Linked DNA regions of Homo sapiens: all the other regions are linked to region 3. Evidence: promoter capture Hi-C in 16 types of primary human blood cells and fetal thymus (Javierre and others, 2016). All regions are on one chromosome and are shown on one strand. Each heading gives the region's core, a stretch centred on a gene start or on the middle of the fragment in contact. The rest is flanking DNA. Distances are from core to core; before and after follow the strand shown. Region 1 holds the start of OR8K1 (olfactory receptor family 8 subfamily K member 1). Region 2 holds the start of OR8J3 (olfactory receptor family 8 subfamily J member 3). Region 3 holds the start of OR5T2 (olfactory receptor family 5 subfamily T member 2). Region 4 holds the start of OR8H3 (olfactory receptor family 8 subfamily H member 3). Region 5 holds the start of OR8K3 (olfactory receptor family 8 subfamily K member 3 (gene/pseudogene)).

Region 1 (3,927 bases), core at 1,065-3,564, 110 kb before region 3:
AAAGAAGAGGAAAAAATGAAAGAAATGGATCTGGATAAAGACACTTTGGTTCATTTTCTGATTCAATTCCTCACAATTTTTACTTTGAACACTAGATTAAATTGGAACAGACACAATTAGAAAAGTGTATATATTTTTAAAATCGAAAAAAATAGAGGCCCGTCGAAACAATGGAAGAATACCAAGATGTAAGGAATTTATTTGCTGAGTGAGAGTACACAATGTAGATGCAGCATTATGGTAGAATACATTCCATGCCACTGTGTAGACAGGCTCATGAAGGAGACAAAGAAGACAGGAATGAAGATGAAACTAACCCTCGAGTGTGTAAGTTTTTTTAATCTGTGTTATTATCTCCATACATTTTTCAAAATTCTATATTGCTACCATTACAGTAGATGACGAGATAACTTATTTATCTTCAGGTTGCCAATTCTAAATCAGCTTATCAGGAAGTTCTCATAAACCAGTGTTTGCAATAGTGCTAGAATCTGTCAAGGAGGATCTAGAATAATCCAATATTTTTCTCATCATTCCTAATCAAAAACCTACTTTATCCCTAAGATATACAATACTAACTTCATCTGATTGAAAAACCTCATTCTGAGATAGCATACTTTATTGTGTTCTTAGCTTTAATGTTTACACAGCCTTTTCTTTTCTTTCTTTTCTTTTTTTTTTTTTTTTGAGATGGAGTCAGGCTCTGTCGCCCAGGCTGGAGAGTGCAGTGGCGTGATCTCAGCTCACTGCAACCTCCGCCTCCCGGGTTCAAGCAATTCTCCTGTCTCAGTCTCCCGAATAGCTGGGACTATAGGTGAATGCTACTGTGCCTGGCTAATTTTTGTATTTTCAGTAGAGACGGGGTTTCACCAAGTTGGTCAGGCTAAATAAACAGCCTTTTCATGTTATGTTATAATCACATATTTACTTACTTTCTTGCTTCCTATCTAGCCTACATGTTCTCTATGGTTCAATCTTATTTACATTTAATACCTAGTGCCTGCTGGGAAATATCTATTACTAATTTTCCGGTTATTTTTACTCTGTTTGAACTATATAAGCTTTTCATTTTAACTCTGCAACTCTAAGTTTGACATAATTTGCCTTATTTATAAATAGTAGCGGTTCCAGTATGATTTCGAAAATTGCTTAGGACATATATTACCTGAATATAGTATTTATTTATTCCATTGAGGTGGCAAAGAGTACAGGTTGCTCTAAGAGGACATGTTTTGTCCAGAAAAAGAGGAAAATCTAAGCAGATAGAGTATTTCTACTTTTTTTATGTTATAATTGGTTTGACAGAGTACTAAACAGATTATTGTACCCAACTATGCAACTGAGTATTAAGATATTAAATGGGAATTTTGAATCGATTGGTTAAAGTTCTCTTTAGAGCATCTTTTACTTCTTTGTTCCTTAGGCTGTAGATCAACGGATTCAGCATAGGAATCAACAGGGTATAAAACACTGAGGCCATTTTATCAATAGCCAAAGTATGACTGGACTTGGGTTGCAAGTAAATAAATAACAATGTCCCATAGAACATGATCACCACTGTCAGATGAGAGCTACAGGTGGAGAAGGCTTTGTACCTCCCTTTCCTTGAGTTCATTCTGAGAATGGCCACTAGAATAAACATGTAGGATATGAGAACAATTGAGAGGGAGAAGAGCAAATTACAGCCTGAGAAGATCAAAATTATTAATTCTAATTCATTTGTGTCAGAACAGAGTATGGACATCAGAGGGATACAGTCACAGTAAAAATAGCTGATTATGTTTGAGCCACAGAAGGACAGTTTAAATAACTTAATTGTGAGAAATAGTGACACAAACGTGCTATAGAGATAGGGAACAATTACCAGCACCCAAAGTACTTTCTCTGCCATGATGATCACGTACAGAAGAGGTTTACAGATGGCTACGTAGCGATCATAGGCCATTGCTGATAGAATAAAGAGCTCAGAGATGATGAAAATCTCAAAGAATGCTAGCTGAGTGGCATACCAATTGTAAGAAATTGTGTTTTTGTGCACTATGAAGTTTACTAACATCTTCGGGGCAATGACAGTGGAGTAACCAAGATCAGTGATTGACAAATGTCTAAGGAAAAAGTACATGGGGGTGTGTAGCTTGGAGTCCAAGTAGGTCAAGATAACCATGCCCAGATTGCCTATCACTGTGACCAGATATATGATGAGGAAGAGTCCAAACAGTGGAGCCTGCAGCCCAGGGTTGTCTGTAATCCCCATGAGAATAAATTCAGTCACCTTGGTCACTGCCGTGTGATTGTGTTTTACCACATGATTCATCTTGGTAACTGTGCAAACTAGAAAATCAATATTTATTATATTTGAAACATTATCTTCTAAGAAAATTAACAATTTGATGTATGAGCAATAGAGGTATTTCCTTTATTTCAAATTCTAAATAGAGTCTCCTCTTCCCATCAGGTCAAAACCACACAAAGCTACAGTCACATTCATTAAAACTGTGGTAAAGTATAATTAAAAGGGGCAAGATATTTTGAAGTTGTTGTTTTGATGTAGCTACTATGACCTACTTTTTGGACCCAGAGTCATTTTAATTATGTAAAAATAGCTACCACTTTTGTTTCTGCTTACCACAATTTTCAGGTAATTTGTAAAACAAACATCTATACATTAAACTTTACATTTTTGCTGATCATTGAAAGAAGCAAGACAAGATTTTCAAAACTATAGATGGAGTAATGAATAGGGCAGTAGGAAATCTCTGATCATTATATACATGTCAATACTTCTGTCTATAAATTCAACTTGTTTACCAAAAACAAAATTTTATGCCATAATTTGAGAATTTTGTTAATAATATCTTAATCTGCATTTGAACTTTTTGCCTATTGAATTGCTGCTTCTAGTGAGCAATTGGGGGGATGTATAATCCCCCAATTATACATCCTTCTGCAGGAAAAAAAAAATCTGGCTGTTCTTACAATTCATGAACATTTAAGAGAGAATCATAAAAAAGGGCTCAGTGGATAGAGAAACACAAATGAATATCAAGAACCTAAGCAAATCCATAGCATGCTAGGCAATTTTGCAAGTGCTTTACACATATTAACTCATATGATCTACACAATAACTTTAGGAAGTAGGCAGTAATATCATCCCCATTTAAAAGAAAAAGAAACTGAGGCACAAAGAGTTGGATAATTTAACAAAGATCTTTCACATTATAAGTTGTAGTGTAAGGATTCAAGTAAAGCCATTCTGCCTTCAGAATATGTTCTCATAAACACTCTAACACACCACTTCTCCATTAGGGATACCCTTCATTGTTAGGAAGTGAGAATGAGACAGGAAAGACACAAGGTAAATAATGATAAAGATCTTTGTTAAAATAGATGACTGAAGCATGAAGTAATTTGAAAGCTAAGGTGGCATAAATAATGACCAGCCTCGAGTATTGGAGACTGTATAACAGGTCTGTCTGCACATCTGTCCTATTGATGACAGAACAGTATATTGCAAGGGAGGCAACAGTTTTGCAGAGAATGGGACCCTTCCAGATTTTTGGTGACAACCTGCTTTAAGGATGTACCCTTAGAAATTTTCTAAGACCAATGTTTCCGCTTACCTCAATGGAGAATTTGCTTTGCTTTCTACTGCTTTAGGCCTCATAGGTGGCTACCGAATGGATTTAAATTTTTTCTCCTCCCTTGAGACTCATTGTGTTGAAATGTTAATCTGACCCAAGGTTAAACAAATTCTACGTAATTACCTGAGGGAAAGTGCCTTGAATATCTGTTGATTATTCTCCGAATGTTCCATTAAGAAAAAGTCGTAAATACTTATGCCTTTGTCTAACTGAAAAAATAAATTATGCAATATCACTAAAGACTGGAAATCACAAATGCCATTTTCAGCATTGCATGCAAATATTA
Region 2 (3,744 bases), core at 450-2,949, 94 kb after region 3:
GTGCTGAAACATTTCATAGAAACTACACAGGGCAGGAAGACATTAGAATTCTAAAAAGTCATAGTGGAAAGTCCTTTTACAAGACATAGACATCCAGTAGAAATCTCAGGAACAAAGCTATTTTAAACCCCTTTGCCAGCTTGAAAACAAGTCTCGAATAGAGTCAACTGATAACTGACAGCACGACAAGGTGACTAAAGTCAATAATTACTTGTACATTTTAAAACATTTATCATTCTTTTAGGAAAACAAATTAAAATAAAACACAGCAATTATTCTTATAAAATTTACAATATTCAACATCCAATCACAAATTCTAGTCCTATGAGAAAGCAGCAGTGTGCAACCTTCAAAATGTTATTATAGATGTTGGATATACTGAATGATTTAGCACAAATACCAACACTGTGAGAAATAAATGAAAATACAATATTACATATGAACAAATATTTATTGAGTAAAAAACATACACTGAAAAAGAAAAGATGTGACTTGTCACAATAGACACTCAAAATGAAGCCAGAGAGAAACATAATACTAAAAACAAAACCCACTGAAACAGTCTCAGTCAACTATAGAACAATAACAAGATACCTACCACATGTTTAATTATAAGGTCTAAGTGGAAAGAAAAAACTATATTATAGGACAAGAAACAGGGAAAAAGATGTTGGCCAGAATTTCTAAGTTTATTTTTTAATAATGATGAAGATACAACAGGATAAAATAACTCCAAGCAAAATAAACAGAAAGAAAATGATGCCAAAGTGCTTCACCATCAATTATAAAAAATTTAATTATAAAAAATTATAAAAAATTCTTCAAAATTGCTAGTGATAAAAGATATAAACGAATGAAGAAATGTTTACCACTGATACATTGGCAGAAAAAATAAAAGTCATGACACTATGACACTTTCTTTGTTTTTTTTTTTTTTTTTTTGAGACTGAGTCTCCCTCTGTTGCCCAGGCTGGAGTGCAGTGGTGCCGTCTCGGCTCACTGCAAGCTCTGCCTCCTGAATTCACGCCATTCTCCTGCCTCAGCCTCCCAAGTCGCTGGGACTACAGGCGCCCGCCACCACGCAAGGCTATTTTTTTTATTTTTAGTAGAGACGGGGTTTCACCATGTTAGCCAGGATGGTCTCGATCTCCTGACCTCGTGATCCGCCCGCCTTGGCCTCCCAAAGTGCTGGGATATCAGGCGTGAGCCACCGCGCCCGGCCAAAGTCATGACACTTTCTTATGTCAACCAATAACTATATGTCTGGTAGAATTATACCATAATCACCAAAAGTATTCTTTGTCAATGGATGTTGTATTATCAAATTTTGCATGTTTTTTTCTAGAAAATTTTTTCTCATTTACTAACAAATTGCATATATGGGTGTCTGTGTGTGGTATACTTAATATGAGCAAAATACTGTGTAACCAAAATGCTGACAAAGTCATATTTATAATTTCCTGTGTTTAGTCATATTGCATAATTCAATTATTCAGTTAGACTGAAACATAAAATATTATGACTTTTTCTAATGGAAAATTCTGAGAATAATTAACAAATATCCAAGGCACTCTCCCTCAGGTAATTATGTACAATTTTTTATCCTTGAATCAGATTGAAACTTCAACTAAATGAGTCTCAAGGGTTTTAGAAAAAAACCTTAAATCTATTCTGTAGCCACCTGTGAGGGCTAAAGAAGTAGAAAGCAAAGCAGATTCTCTGTTGAAGTAAGTAGAAACATTGATCATTGACAATTTTCAAGGGCAGAGTTTAAACTAGGTTATCACCAAAGATGTTGAAGGCCCCTATACTCTGCAAAACTATTTCCTCCCTTGCAATATAGGGCTATTAACTTAATGTTTCATGCTTTTCAACTATTTTTAACAAGGATCTTTGTCTATCATTATTTACCTAGTGCCCCTCCTGTCCTATTCTCATTTCCTATCTATGCACGTTACAGCATTTATAAGAACATATTCTAAAGGCAGGATAACTTTATCTGAATGAAGAACAGATGTGGCATAGGCCATATTTTTTCCCAGATACGCATTTTCAAGAAATTAATTCTTGCCTGGAATCCTGGAATGCCCTTCCTGTGACTGATTAAATAGCTAATTCCTTCTCCACCTTTAGGTTTCAATTCAAATGCCACCTTCTCAGAAGAGCCTTCCTTGTAAAAGTATTAATATTAATATTCTATGTGATAGTACTCTCCCAGGTTATCCTAGTATATTATCTTGTTTGTTTTACCTATTATGCTTATTTAAATCTGCAATTATTGTGTTTATATGCCTTCTTAACAGATTTTTCTCTTCCCTATCATTACAATAACATATTCACGATCTGAGGGTCAGGTAATTTATCTGAAGCTCGAACATAGCCTGGAACAAAGTAGAATTTTAATAAATATGTGGAAAATAAGAGGATAATTCACAGAACCCACAGGAAAAATTTATGCTTGGTATCATCAAACAAACTGGTACCAGATATCCAACAACGTTAGGAGTCATTTTGGTGTTATTTCTCTGTTTTCTTTTTTTAAGTAGTCACTTCTTTATTTTTTCTCACTGTAGAATAATCATTTGTTTCTCTTTCTATTCTATCTCTTTTAGAAGGAGAGAAACTGAATAGCTCTGGGCTTTTAAAATTCAGATCTGTGTGATAATATATTCTTAACTTTCTGGAACTTAATTGTGAACTTTAAAATAAAGAACTATATGATAAGACTTATTTGGACCAGGTGCCCACCACTGGAACTATCAATTGTGACTCCAACAGGACATGAATTCACTTAGTTAGGGGCAAATAATCATGATTAAAATATACAACTCTAGGAAAGTGTTCATCCATACTAAAATAGCACGCTGAATCTATGGCAAATACATGCAACATAATTATCATAAAAACCCTCAAAATGAAGGTGTTTATTCCTGTTACAATAATATAAATATCAAAAAACGTAAAAAAAACAGATCAGCTAAAATTAAGAGCAGGTGTATTGTGTAAATTTAAGAAATATAACATTTTATAAACAAAAAATTGAATTAAAAGAAAAATCATGAAAAAAACACGGAGTATTGTACGAACTTTTAGCACAAGGAAAAGAATAGTCATGAGAGGGAAGAAATAGAAAGTAGTACCCAGGAAAGCATAATGTTGAGGAATTACAAAAATGATAAAAATCTTACTGATTTTTTTTTTTTTTTGAGACGGAGTCTCGCTCTGTCGCCCAGGCTGGAGTGCAGTGGCGCAATCTCGGCTCACTGGCGCAATCTCGGCTCACTGCAAGCTCCGCCTCCAGGGTCCACGCCATTCTCCTGCCTCAGCCTCCCGAGTAGCTGGGACTACAGGCGCCCGCCACGACGCACGGCTAATTATTTTTTTTTGTTTGTTTGTTTGTAGAAAGGGGTTTCACTGTGTTAGCCAGGGTGGTCTCCATCTCCTGACCTCATGATCTGCCCGCCTCGGCCTCCCAAAGTGCTGGGATTACCGGTTTGAGCCACCACGCCTGCACAAAATTTTACTGATATTATTTATGGAAACCTAAGAAGAGAAACAGCTACCTGAAAAATAGATCTGAAGAGATTTATCCATGTATTTTTGTTTGAGTTAATAAAATGGAAAGAGAAAAAGTAGTAAACAAACATGCATGTTGTAATTTGCAAGCTCAATATAGATCTAATACATGTTATAAAAGGATATAATTCTTAAAATGAAGAGTATAGTACCTAGTCTTGAGGCAAA
Region 3 (4,212 bases), core at 203-2,702:
GAACAGAATAGGGAGCCTGGAAACAATCCCACATGTATATAGTCAAATGATCTTTCACAAGTGTGCCAAGAATACACAATGGGAAATTAAATTGGACCCTTGTCTTATACCATATAAAATAACCAACCCAAAATGGATTAAAAATTTAAACATAAAACCTGAAACTACAATTTCTAGAAGAAAACATAAGGAAAAACTTTAGGACCTTCAGCTTGGCAGTAACTTGTTGGATGTAACATAAAAATACAAGCAATGACATAAAAAGCCAAGTAACAAAACCAAAATTAGACAAGTAGGGCTACGTCAAAGTCAAAATCTTCTGCACAATGAAGAAAACCATCAGCCAAACAAAAAATATTTGTAAATGATATATCTAATAGGGGATTAATATCAAAATATATAAATTCAATAGCCACAATAACAATAATCTTATTTTAAAACTGGCAAAGGACTTGAATACATTTTTTTTCCAAAGAAGACATACAAATGGCCTTCAGATGTATGAAAAGATGTTCAACATCAGTAGTCATCAGGGAAATTCAAATCTGACACATTTTAAACAGAAGCCAAAGAACTCTATTGATTCAATAAGTAGGAGCATGCAGTGCCTTATTCCGGAATCATTTACTTTTTATTATTAAGTAAATCATCATGGTGCTATTTTGAAACAGAAGATAATTGGGGCATATTCCCCTTGGGACATCTCCTTGGATTTCATCAACAGTCAATTACAAAGATATAAACAATCTAAGTTAGCCATATTCATAGAATACCTAAATCTGCATTTGCTGTTCCACAGGTAAGAGAAAATTTCAGATAATTTGAAGAATATTTCGGCAGCTAGAACCTACAATATCAAGAATAACTATGTTTTTTTTTACTAAACTTTTTAGCTGCTAAACACCAAGAACTAAACACTTCAGTTCTGGACTATTACATATGTGAATCAAGTGTATTCATCAAAATATGATTTATTTAGAGTTATGCCTAAGAATTAAAATCCAACACTTACTAGAAAACAATAAAAAATAGAAAATATTGTATTTGTACTTATAGAGATAAATAAGAGTGCTCCTAATAGAGTATATGCTTGTATTTTTCTTATAGATAAAGATAGTTCAAAGGTCATGAATTTACCAATAAATATCAACAAAGGGCAAAAAAACATTTGACTTATTCATTTATCTGGGGTCTTGTATTTTGAAGTAATAAGGAAAACAATCAATACTTATTTTAAATTTATTTTCTGGCTTTATAATCTAGAAGTCACTTCAGATTGCTACTTATTTTATGTTTCTCTAGATTTAATGGCTTAAAAAATACAAATACATCGAGAATCATGTTTTGCTTTACCTTTATTTCCCTGAGGTCAGCAGAGGGGTAAGAGGAAGAGTGTTCCAGTTGCAGAATGAAGCCATTTATGAGGCCATGAAAAAATGCAAAAATTTCATGTACAATGAGAGAAACCTGGGATTGAATCTTGGCTCTGGAAATTGTTAGCTATGAAAGTTGCTATAAAGGTGAAATAAGGTAATGTACAAGAAATGTCTGTTCTTGCAGCAAGTGCTAAATAAATGCCTGTTATTTAGCAAACTTAGTGTTTCGTTATTACATTCACGATATTTAAAGTTTTCTCCCTTCCATTAAAATTTGTTTCATAAAAATAGATTTGCATTAATTTAAAAAGTTGATTCTATATTATTAAATCTTCAAGAATCATAGTGATTTTCTCTTTATAACTCTGAATCTTTGACTATGTGCTAATATTAACTTAATTTTTACCCAATATAACTTATTTTGGCATCTAGTAGAAATGCCTGTCTCACAAGAAATTTGGTTGAAGTATCTTATTTGCACAAAGCAAAATTAAGACAATTGTAATGTAGAAAATGGAATCATGGTAATTTGCATGTTTATTTTTGGCATAAAATGATCAAGTAATTCACAAAACTTCTTCATTCTCCAAAGAATAATTCAGAGACATTTGAATGAGCAGATGAAAAAAATCATAACTGTTCATTGGATTTAATCTTGATAGAATGTAGAACCAACTTAATTCAGCATATTCTATAATCAAAATTATTTTACATATTATATTTTATTAATGCAATTTTCCTTCAATATTTACTCCAATCTTGTGAACAAACTATTAATGTTCTCATTCTATAGACAAGTAGATATAGCAAATCATTTTGCACAATTGCTACAAGTTCTAAAATTCTGGTATTGTATTCCAATGCTCTGTCCCCTGATACAGTCTCTTGTGTATTTGGATGCCCAAAGATTGTTTAAGCCACTCATTTTTGTGTGTTTTAATATTATTTAATATATAAACAGCTTAATACAATTCAGTGGTAAATTAACCAGTAGACCTGATGATTTTAGAAACAGAATAAGTCCAGCCAACTAATGAACGTCCATTTCTTCCATTTGATTCTGCAGTGAGTGGCATGAACACATGGCTGACCAGTTTGTCACTGTCTTCTGATTCACTACTAGAGAATTATGCACTGCTGAATATATGTCGTACAGTATATACAAGAGCACAGTTAACATCCCCTTGAGTCATGGTGTTGTTCATTCTTTTTGTCATAATATGAACTGTAACTTTATGCATATCTTCAAGTTTGTTCTAGATTTCAACATGAAGAATGTCACTGAAGTTACCTTATTTGTACTGAAGGGCTTCACAGACAATCTTGAACTGCAGACTATCTTCTTCTTCCTGTTTCTAGCAATCTACCTCTTCACTCTCATGGGAAATTTAGGACTGATTTTAGTGGTCATTAGGGATTCCCAGCTCCACAAACCCATGTACTATTTTCTGAGTATGTTGTCTTCTGTGGATGCCTGCTATTCCTCAGTTATTACCCCAAATATGTTAGTAGATTTTACGACAAAGAATAAAGTCATTTCATTCCTTGGATGTGTAGCACAGGTGTTTCTTGCTTGTAGTTTTGGAACCACAGAATGCTTTCTCTTGGCTGCAATGGCTTATGATCGCTATGTAGCCATCTACAACCCTCTCCTGTATTCAGTGAGCATGTCACCCAGAGTCTACATGCCACTCATCAATGCTTCCTATGTTGCTGGCATTTTACATGCTACTATACATACAGTGGCTACATTTAGCCTATCCTTCTGTGGAGCCAATGAAATTAGGCGTGTCTTTTGTGATATCCCTCCTCTCCTTGCTATTTCTTATTCTGACACTCACACAAACCAGCTTCTACTCTTCTACTTTGTGGGCTCTATCGAGCTGGTCACTATCCTGATTGTTCTGATCTCCTATGGTTTGATTCTGTTGGCCATTCTGAAGATGTATTCTGCTGAAGGGAGGAGAAAAGTCTTCTCCACATGTGGAGCTCACCTAACTGGAGTGTCAATTTATTATGGGACAATCCTCTTCATGTATGTGAGACCAAGTTCCAGCTATGCTTCGGACCATGACATGATAGTGTCAATATTTTACACCATTGTGATTCCCTTGCTGAATCCCGTCATCTACAGTTTGAGGAACAAAGATGTAAAAGACTCAATGAAAAAAATGTTTGGGAAAAATCAGGTTATCAATAAAGTATATTTTCATACTAAAAAATAAATTATAAAAGGTGAGGGTGATACTCTGCACCTCAATACCAAGAATGTGTCATTGTGGTGTTATGATATATGTTGGTTTCCATCCAGGGTTCCTGGCTCATAATTCCCATAGCCTTTGTTACAGTCTTTTGTTATAATGTTGGGTGTTATACCTCAGGGGCAGGCCTTTTACCTTCTCCTGCCCTCCTTTCACTTGCACCAAGGCTGGGTTCCAATGTCTGCCTTACTGATTGTGAATCTTAAGACTCTCCCATGAGAGAGTCCCACCCTATACCTTCGGGGAGGGAATGCTGATGCCTTGAAGCTTCCATAGAACCTAGGAGGATAGGGTTCAGTGAGCTTCTGGGGAGCAGAACAAATGGAAGTTCCTAGAGGGTGGCATGGTCAGGGAGGGCATGGAAACTCTGCACCCCTTTCCTTATACTTTGCCCTACACATCCCTTCACCAGTGTCCTTTGCAATATCCTTTTCAATAAGCCAGTAATATGTTTCCCTGAGTTTTGTGAGCTGCTTCAGTAATTTAATGAAACCCAAAGAGGGGGTCATGGGAGATCCAACTTGAAGCAGGTTGGTCAAAGTTTCAGAGACCCGAATTTGTGACTGGTGTTGTCA
Region 4 (3,712 bases), core at 76-2,575, 110 kb after region 3:
CTATGATTCTTCCCCACATAATAAATGGAATAACATCTAAAACTATTATCACCGTGTCTCAAATATTCTTTCCATAATAAATTTATCTACAGTTGAAGCATACATAAGAATTTGAATAATATAATTAAAAATGACAACCTTATTTTCTTATTTTCCACATCAGTTGCTTCAAAACATGACACACATATTATGATTCTAATTACCATTTGGATTTCTAAAAACATATGCCTTGAAATGTTTTAAATCATGTTTAGTCAAGCAAAGAGTAGCACAACAGAAATGCAAATAAATTAAAGGATTCAATTGTTTTTATAGAGAGACTAAGAAAATACCCAATAGGAATGAAAGAAAAGATGAGATTAAATGTTCCATTTCTGCTATTTTAACTACCTGGAGTCCTGTCTTCTCTGCATGACTCTAATGAGAGCATTTTTCACTTCTCTGTTTCTAAGACTATAAATGAGTGGATTCAGCATGGGAATCACAATAGTATAAAACACAGGAGCCACTTGATCTCTTCCCAAGGAATAAGACTTTCTTGGCTTTAAGTAAGTAAAAATCATAGTTCCATAGAAGATGGTGACTCCCAAGAGATGAGAGACGCAAGTAGAGAAAGCTTTCTGCTTTCCTGAAGTGGAATTAATTTTCAGGATGGTAGAGAGAATGGACACATAGGATGCAGATATTGTGATAAGGGACACCATCAGGGTGGAACCAGCGATAATGAATATCAGCATTTCAGTGTTGTCTGTGTCAGTGCAGGACAGAGCTAAAATTGGGGAAGTGTCACAGAAAAAGTGATGAATTATGTTTGAGTCACAGAAATGCAATCTGCTCATGGAAACCACATTGACAAAGGAGTCCATAAAGCCAATCACATAAGGCCCAGTGATGAGAGCGAGGCAGAGCCTTTTGGGCATAATAACTGTGTAGTGTAGAGGACTGCAGATCGCTGCATAGCGATCATAGGCCATTGAGGAGAGAAGATAACATTCAGCAGTACCCAAGAAGACAAAACAGAACATCTGGGCAAAGCAGCCCGTGAAGGAAATATAGTTGGAAGTCAGTAAGTTCGCTAAGGTTTTAGGTGTGACGACAGTTGAGTAACTGAGGTCAATAAATGACAGGTGAGTAAGGAAAAAATACATGGGAGTGTGAAGCTGGAGGTCCAGGCGGATTATCAATAGCATCCCCACATTCCCCAGCATAGTAATTAGGTATATGAGGAGAAATAGCATAAACAGAGCCATCTGGACCTCTTCAGAGTCTGACAGTCCCGTAAGGATGAAGTCAGCCACATTTGTGTCATTCCTTCTACCCATCATGTTCACCTGCTCTAAACTGCTGAGAAATCAAAGTTGATACGTAGCAGGGGCGCCTGTACTCCCAGCTACTGGAGAAGCTGAGGCAGGAGAATCGCTTGAACATGGGAGCCGGAGGTTGCAGTGAGCCAGAGGTTGCAGTGAGCTGGGATCACACTATTGCATTGCAGCCCCAGCAACTGTGCCAGACTCCGACTCAAAAAAAATAAACAAAACAATCAAAAAAAATTTCTGTTTATATGAATGACCTAGCATTTAATAATTAGTTTAACATTCTACAAATTGCTAATAAATTTATAGAATATGACTAAAGAGACTAATTTTATTGCCAATATAGATATAAGTTCAAATTAACATTTGCATATGTTATAATAAAATGTAGCATATTGCATAATTAGAATGAACCTGACATTGTTCTGAATGGCTTCCTTTATTAATATATTTAATCCACCTGAAAATATTATACCATAGATACTACTATTATCCACATAGTTTAGGTGAGGGAAAAAAAGAGTATGGAAGGTTGGAGTAACTTATCCAAAGTCAGATCAATTCAATGTTGACACTGATTCTACAAAGATATATTCCTTCAGAGAGAAGGCTTATAATACTACAATCTTGTTTATAAATAATTTCAGAAAACTTGAGAAAAGAGGTGGACATGTAATAAAAAATGAGAGGAAACAGTTTTATTATATAATTTACTGCCCTTTTGTTTCCAATATTATTTAATAATAATTTTCAATAAATTTCACCCTTGGGGTTTTTAGTCAGGTACATTAAAATTATAGACAATATATAAGTATTAATTTATAAAAGATGTGATGTTTTCCTGACATAACTAATCAAAATCTAATTTCTTCCAAAAAATTATATTTTCAAAATGTATACTTTGCTTGTAGACTCTGATTCTGGCAACTCTACATTTGTCTCACAAACCCTGACATTACTTAGGGTAGAGAGTAAATGATATGTGTATATATTAATATATACATTAATATATATTAATATATTATTCTGCGAAAGTCCCCATTTTATTTCATCTGAAGTAAAATGTGAAACAAAATCTTCCAATTTTGAGAATAATACTTACTGTGTGTAAGTCAACATTCATGAAAAAACTTTCTTCTTATATTATCTGTATGGAAATTTGTCAACTTCAAATTTTTGTTATAAATAAAATAAGAAAACTATTTAAGGAGATGAAAATTTTTATAATATTTGTTTTCCTTGAGATAAGTTGTTTTTACATTTTGGTGCATTCATTATGTTTTATTCTGAGTTATGATAAACCAATCTAGAAATTTTGTTTAGGTTCTGGTCTAATGGAAAGATTACCAAGAAGTTATGTGTCAAAGAAGACCGGCAGCCACTGTGACCATAAGGAGATTATTCTTTCCCTCTCACTCGGATAATTCCAGAGGATCTCATATACCAGAGGCTGATGACAATGCACCTTTTGGTAGGCCCTGGGGGCCATTTGCCAAGGCAGATTGTTTGGCATGTTTCCAAGCACAAAAGTTCAAGGACTAAATGTAGCCATGTTAGGCTTTGTGCAAAGATTTTCCTTTTTACCTTAGAAGCCACACAAATGAAGGAAATTATGAATTGGTCTTTTCTTGTGATGTTCTCAATATTTTACAGGCGTGGTGGAGAAGGCATTTCCAGAAAAAATAGTTACTCTGTGACTGACATCATCAAAGATGGAATAATACATTTTTCACAATTAAATTTCTTAATATTTAAAAGTGCGATACTATCGTATATGTAAACCATGTTAATTGGAAAAGAATCAGAAGATAACAAAATTCAAAAAAAGTAAATGAAAACAATTCAAAACTGTCGTTAACATTTTGTTAACATTATAATTTTTCCTAATTATTTTCCTTTGTGCCTTATTTGTACATGTACTTATAGATGGCATAACAATTATTGTACTATACAGTCAGTGTCTTTTGCTCATTTAATAACCAAAATTTTATGCTATGCCATGAGCTATCTTATATTAACCTTTTATCAACCACACAATTCTACGGTTCATGTATTGGTTAGTGCCCCGTAACTTACTAAGTTAACTATGTGTTTACGAGCTGATAAACAGACATTTTGAAGCATTATCAGAAAGTGGTGTAGGTTATTCATTCTGGTGTGGTGGTGTCACCTAATTCATCTACATGCAATATTTGTGCACTATGTTTTGCTGTTTTCATGTACTTTTTAAAATTTTATGAAACAAAAGTGAGAGCAGAAAAACAAAATCAGCCATGAGACTAATAAACATTTTATAATTAATTTAGTAGCCCAAAACATACTTCCTCCATGTATAGTCAGGTCAATTTTTTCCTTAAATATGAGTTAAAATTAAAATATAAAAAGAGAGCTGAAATATT
Region 5 (4,011 bases), core at 982-3,481, 81 kb before region 3:
AAATAGTGTAAGTTATCTAAAACTGTTTGTTCTAATATCCAGAACCAACATGTCATTGCAGAATTGTTGGGAAGGATGACTGAAGATTAAGTGATTCAATGTGTCTTTGCTGCCTAGAAGTAGTTCTAAAACATCAAGTACATTGTGAGTTTTCTTCTTCTTGTTATTTGTTTTAATTGTGACAATGCCTTACTTGAAAGAGGTTTTTTTTACATGTGTACACATACATTATTCTGACTATGAATTAACTTCTTTGTTAGGACCATAATGATGCCTAGGGGAGTCACAGGTCAAGTAGGATGTAATACTTGCAACTTAGGGCAGTTCTTCTCCCCTCCCCCAATTCATGACTAAACTTGGGTAATTGGTATGCTATTGTTTTGGATTACTTATCTATTTTTCACAACGAATTTAATAACATTTTAAATAAATTATTTTTATATAAACTTTATTAAAACATTAATCTTCCCATAGTTTTATTCTCAATATAATTGAGAAATGCTAACTTGAATGTGAACGTTAAGTTTGTTTTATCATACAAAATCTTAGGGGAGTTTGAGGAAATCTGAACAAATTGGGAGAAAATGTGGTCCTTCATATTGGTTTTGTATAATGAAAATTAGTAAAAGCTACTTTTTGGGTAAAAGGATACTGTAGATTAAAGAAATGATTAAAAGTCACCTTGTTACACAATAACATAGAGACAAAATGAATACACTAAACATGAGATATACGTGGATTTCTGGCTGTGATTTAAAACTTTTCTGAACATGCAAGCCACAGAAACTAGGAAATATGGTATAGCACATAATACAAATTAACATATGTATAATCGAATAAATATATATCTAAATATCCCCCAATAACCCACAGATTTAAAATATAGTAGAGCAGGAGATGGAGGGCATGATAACCTAAGATAATCATTATTAGTTAAAAAAAATCGTAAGCCCCAATGTTTTTTGAAAAAAGAAAAGAAAGAAAATAGTTTTTACAATGAAAATTATAGTGACAGCAATCTCAGAGTGAGCTATGAAAAAATAAAGACAAGCAATTGTGTTACATTAAATATAAAGATGATTACATATTATTTGAACTTAATTTTTTAAATAAAATTATGACCTACTCCTATCCTACCCTGACTCAATGAACACACCTTTCTCATATTAGATATATGGTAATGTGTGGCAGTAGATGGAAAAGTTAGATAAATATCTTTAGTAAATAAGATGATGAGCAGCATAAATCCTGTATTTTGTTTGCTTGTTTTGTACAGTTTGGCAATTTAGAAAGGCAAATAATATCATGGATAAGTACCTGTTTTCTTGTTAGGTAAGGAAATATAAATGAGGTTCCTTTCACCATCTTTGGAGTTCTGTGGAAAGAACCAGATTGCTTTTTTTCATATTTTGCTGTCTTTGTTGAATATCAATTGCATTTTTTAAAGCTACAATCTTTGAGAAAATAATATCTGCTTTTGTCAACTCTTAGTGGAAATTGAAGTACTTTCTGAAAATTGTATTGTTCCCTAAAACTGGGTACTTAACAGTCTCCTAATTTTATTTTCTTCTATTTTAAAATGTTTTTTTTTTCTGTGCCTATGATTACCCAAAAAGCCTCATAATTTTTAATAATGCTTTTCACATTCGAATGTAAGGTAGCAACCCCCTTTTTGACTCACCAAGCAGTGAGAAAACAATCATATCTACACATTTATTTGAATAATCATTCAGTGTTAAATTATTGTTAAGGGGTCTGAGAGCCTAGAGCATCTAAATAACAAGTATTTGGAAGGACATGAACATGACTGACCAAATAGTTGCAGTTTCTCCATTCTTTCATTAAAAATATATTTATCTCCTTGTCATTGTGCTTTATTTTCTCCAAGTTTTGGCCTCAATTAGAGAAAAATATGTAAAATGAATACTTTAGAAACAATATCATGATAATGTTTCAAAGATGCTTATAGCATTCAGCCTGTGAAACCATGTAAAATACTTAAAAAGCATATGAAAAATGGAGCACCGTTATTTCTGCTTAGGCATTATTGAGTAACAGAAATCCCGGAGAAATGAATCAGAAATTGTCACACTTTACTATGGTTATGTCATCAAATTAAAGTGGCAGTTTTCCAATGTCACTGAAGCATTATAGATATCTGTAACATATGACACCACAAGAAACATTCTTACTTTTTTTTTTTTTACCTGTAAGGAAGCCTCTGTCTTGACTCCTCCATGTGTCTCTCACATGGCACAGTGAGAACAATTTATGCATTTTTTAATCTTTTGAGACTCTCCCTGAGGAGATGGCAGGCAATTTATTGATAATTCCTAAAGCATTTGAGAGCATAACAAAATGTTTGAGGCTGTCCATTAGTTGTAGAAGACAGTTTGTATTCACTAGTGTATCAGAGTTCTCCAGAAAAACAGTACTAAGAAGAGATAGTTAGATGAGAGATGATAGATAGATAGATAGATGATAGATAGATAGATAGATAGATAGATAGATAGATAGATAATAGAGATTTATTATGAATTGTTTTATGCAATTATGTAGGCTGAGGATTCCTGTGATTTGCTGTCTGCAAACTTCAAGAAAGCTGGTGGTATAGATTCAGTTCAAACTTGAAATATTGGGAGCCAGGGGAGCCAAGGGTGTACATCATAGTCTGAATTCGAAGGCTCTGGAATCTGGGATGTCAATGTCTGATGGCAGGAAGCGAAGGATGTCCTAGCTTAAGCAGGGAGTGAACTCACCCTTCCTCTGTCTTTTTGTTTTATTCAAGGCCTCAATTGATTGCACTGATACCCACCTATATTGGTGAGGATGATAGTTACTCTGTCTAACAATCGTAGTCTCTTCCAGGAGTATCCTCACAGGCACACCCAGAAATAATGTTTGCCAGCTATCTGGGCATCATATAGCCTAGTTAAGTCAACACTTTAATCGTCATTACTCCACCCCTTGTCAGCTTGGCAAACATAAGCATGTACTTAAACCATACTTAGTCTCTCTAAACATAGACAATAACAAGGTCATAGTTTTGCTTTACATGACACAACTATCCGGCATATAAATAAAAACTCACTAATCCTTTATTCCAATCAGGACATATATTCTTTGAGTGATACTGACTCTTCTCCTGATTTTCTCAGAGTAAAATTCTACAGTGTAAAAGTAACAATATTTAAATATTGATGTAAAGTCCATATATCATATTTATATAATAAGGTAATAAAAAATGGAATAAAGCATCTTAATAAATACACAGACATATTTATAATAAAATTAGGATGGAATTCTCATTACAATTACAGTCCTCATTTCTGAACTGGCCACATGATTATAGCTGGTATTTATAACCGTCTTCTTCTTCTTTCCATACTCTATTCCTTTTGTCTTTAGCAAGCACCTTAGTTGGCCATGGTTCTTTTTTCCTTGTGAAGTGGCCCAAACCTTTATTCCTGAAGAATGTGGGCCATTAGTAGTTCTGGCTAGTTTGGGCTATTACAGTTTTCCGTATATTATTATTACAGTTTTTCTTATTAATAAAAGATGTCCTAAGGAATGTCCCATATTCCAGGCTTATTCTTCCTTGTATTGTGAAGTAATAGCCCAATTTCCCCTGGAAAGTCAGGATCAAGTGTGATAACTTCCTGTTTTGTCTATTGATTCAGTTGCATGAGGAGCTCAAAATGGCTGGGTAAGAGTCTTAACTTCCAATTCAATAGAATTATTGCTATTTCTCTAGGTGGAAGCATTCATTCCTCTGTGACTAAGACCTGTAGGTCAGTAAAGCTTAAAGTCAATGGAGCAGGAAGCAGAAATTTTGACAGTGGGTCACTAGGGTTAATAGTGAGTGGTGTCTTGAATGTTAAATGACGAGTTAATGGGTGCAACACACCAACATGGCACATGTATACATATGTAACTAACCTGCACATTGCGCACATGTACCCTAAAACTTAAAGGATAATAAAAAAATTAAAAAATTAAAAAAAATAGTGA

The links. The method cuts DNA at HindIII sites, captures the fragments that hold promoters and counts their contacts. A CHiCAGO score of 5 or more calls a contact.
Region 1: a contact is called between the fragment with the promoter of OR8K1 here and the fragment with the promoter of OR5T2 in region 3, in 1 of 17 cell types (neutrophils). The highest score is 6.9, in neutrophils.
Region 2: the fragment with the promoter of OR8J3 here is called in contact with the fragment with the promoter of OR5T2 in region 3 in 13 of 17 cell types (neutrophils, total CD4 T cells, fetal thymus and 10 more); the score reaches 17.6 in neutrophils.
Region 4: the fragment with the promoter of OR8H3 here is called in contact with the fragment with the promoter of OR5T2 in region 3 in 4 of 17 cell types (neutrophils, monocytes, total CD4 T cells and 1 more); the score reaches 10.1 in neutrophils.
Region 5: a contact is called between the fragment with the promoter of OR8K3 here and the fragment with the promoter of OR5T2 in region 3, in 7 of 17 cell types (neutrophils, naive CD8 T cells, total CD4 T cells and 4 more). The highest score is 12.1, in neutrophils.

Annotation. Positions count from the first base shown.
Region 1 is chr11:56,344,426-56,348,352 of GRCh38, reverse strand. OR8K1 (olfactory receptor family 8 subfamily K member 1) reads right to left here and starts at 2,314. Exons shown (of 1, transcript NM_001002907.1): 1 at 1,355-2,314. The coding sequence starts at 2,314. The coding sequence ends at 1,355. The HindIII fragment of the contact is 5,993 bases long and covers 1,064-3,927 here.
Region 2 is chr11:56,138,156-56,141,899 of GRCh38, reverse strand. OR8J3 (olfactory receptor family 8 subfamily J member 3) reads left to right here and starts at 1,699. Exons shown (of 2, transcript NM_001004064.2): 1 at 1,699-1,727; 2 at 3,403-3,744. The HindIII fragment of the contact is 14,492 bases long and covers 1-3,744 here.
Region 3 is chr11:56,231,495-56,235,706 of GRCh38, reverse strand. It overlaps OR5T2 (olfactory receptor family 5 subfamily T member 2), which reads left to right and starts at 1,452. Exons shown (of 2, transcript NM_001004746.4): 1 at 1,452-1,530; 2 at 2,443-4,212. The coding sequence starts at 2,645. The coding sequence ends at 3,601. The HindIII fragment of the contact is 5,726 bases long and covers 1-3,906 here.
Region 4 is chr11:56,119,986-56,123,697 of GRCh38, reverse strand. It overlaps OR8H3 (olfactory receptor family 8 subfamily H member 3), which reads right to left and starts at 1,325. Exons shown (of 1, transcript NM_001005201.1): 1 at 387-1,325. The coding sequence starts at 1,325. The coding sequence ends at 387. The HindIII fragment of the contact is 10,899 bases long and covers 619-3,712 here.
Region 5 is chr11:56,313,364-56,317,374 of GRCh38, reverse strand. OR8K3 (olfactory receptor family 8 subfamily K member 3 (gene/pseudogene)) reads right to left here and starts at 2,231. Exons shown (of 3, transcript NM_001005202.2): 1 at 2,208-2,231; 2 at 1,318-1,375. The HindIII fragment of the contact is 10,208 bases long and covers 1-3,803 here.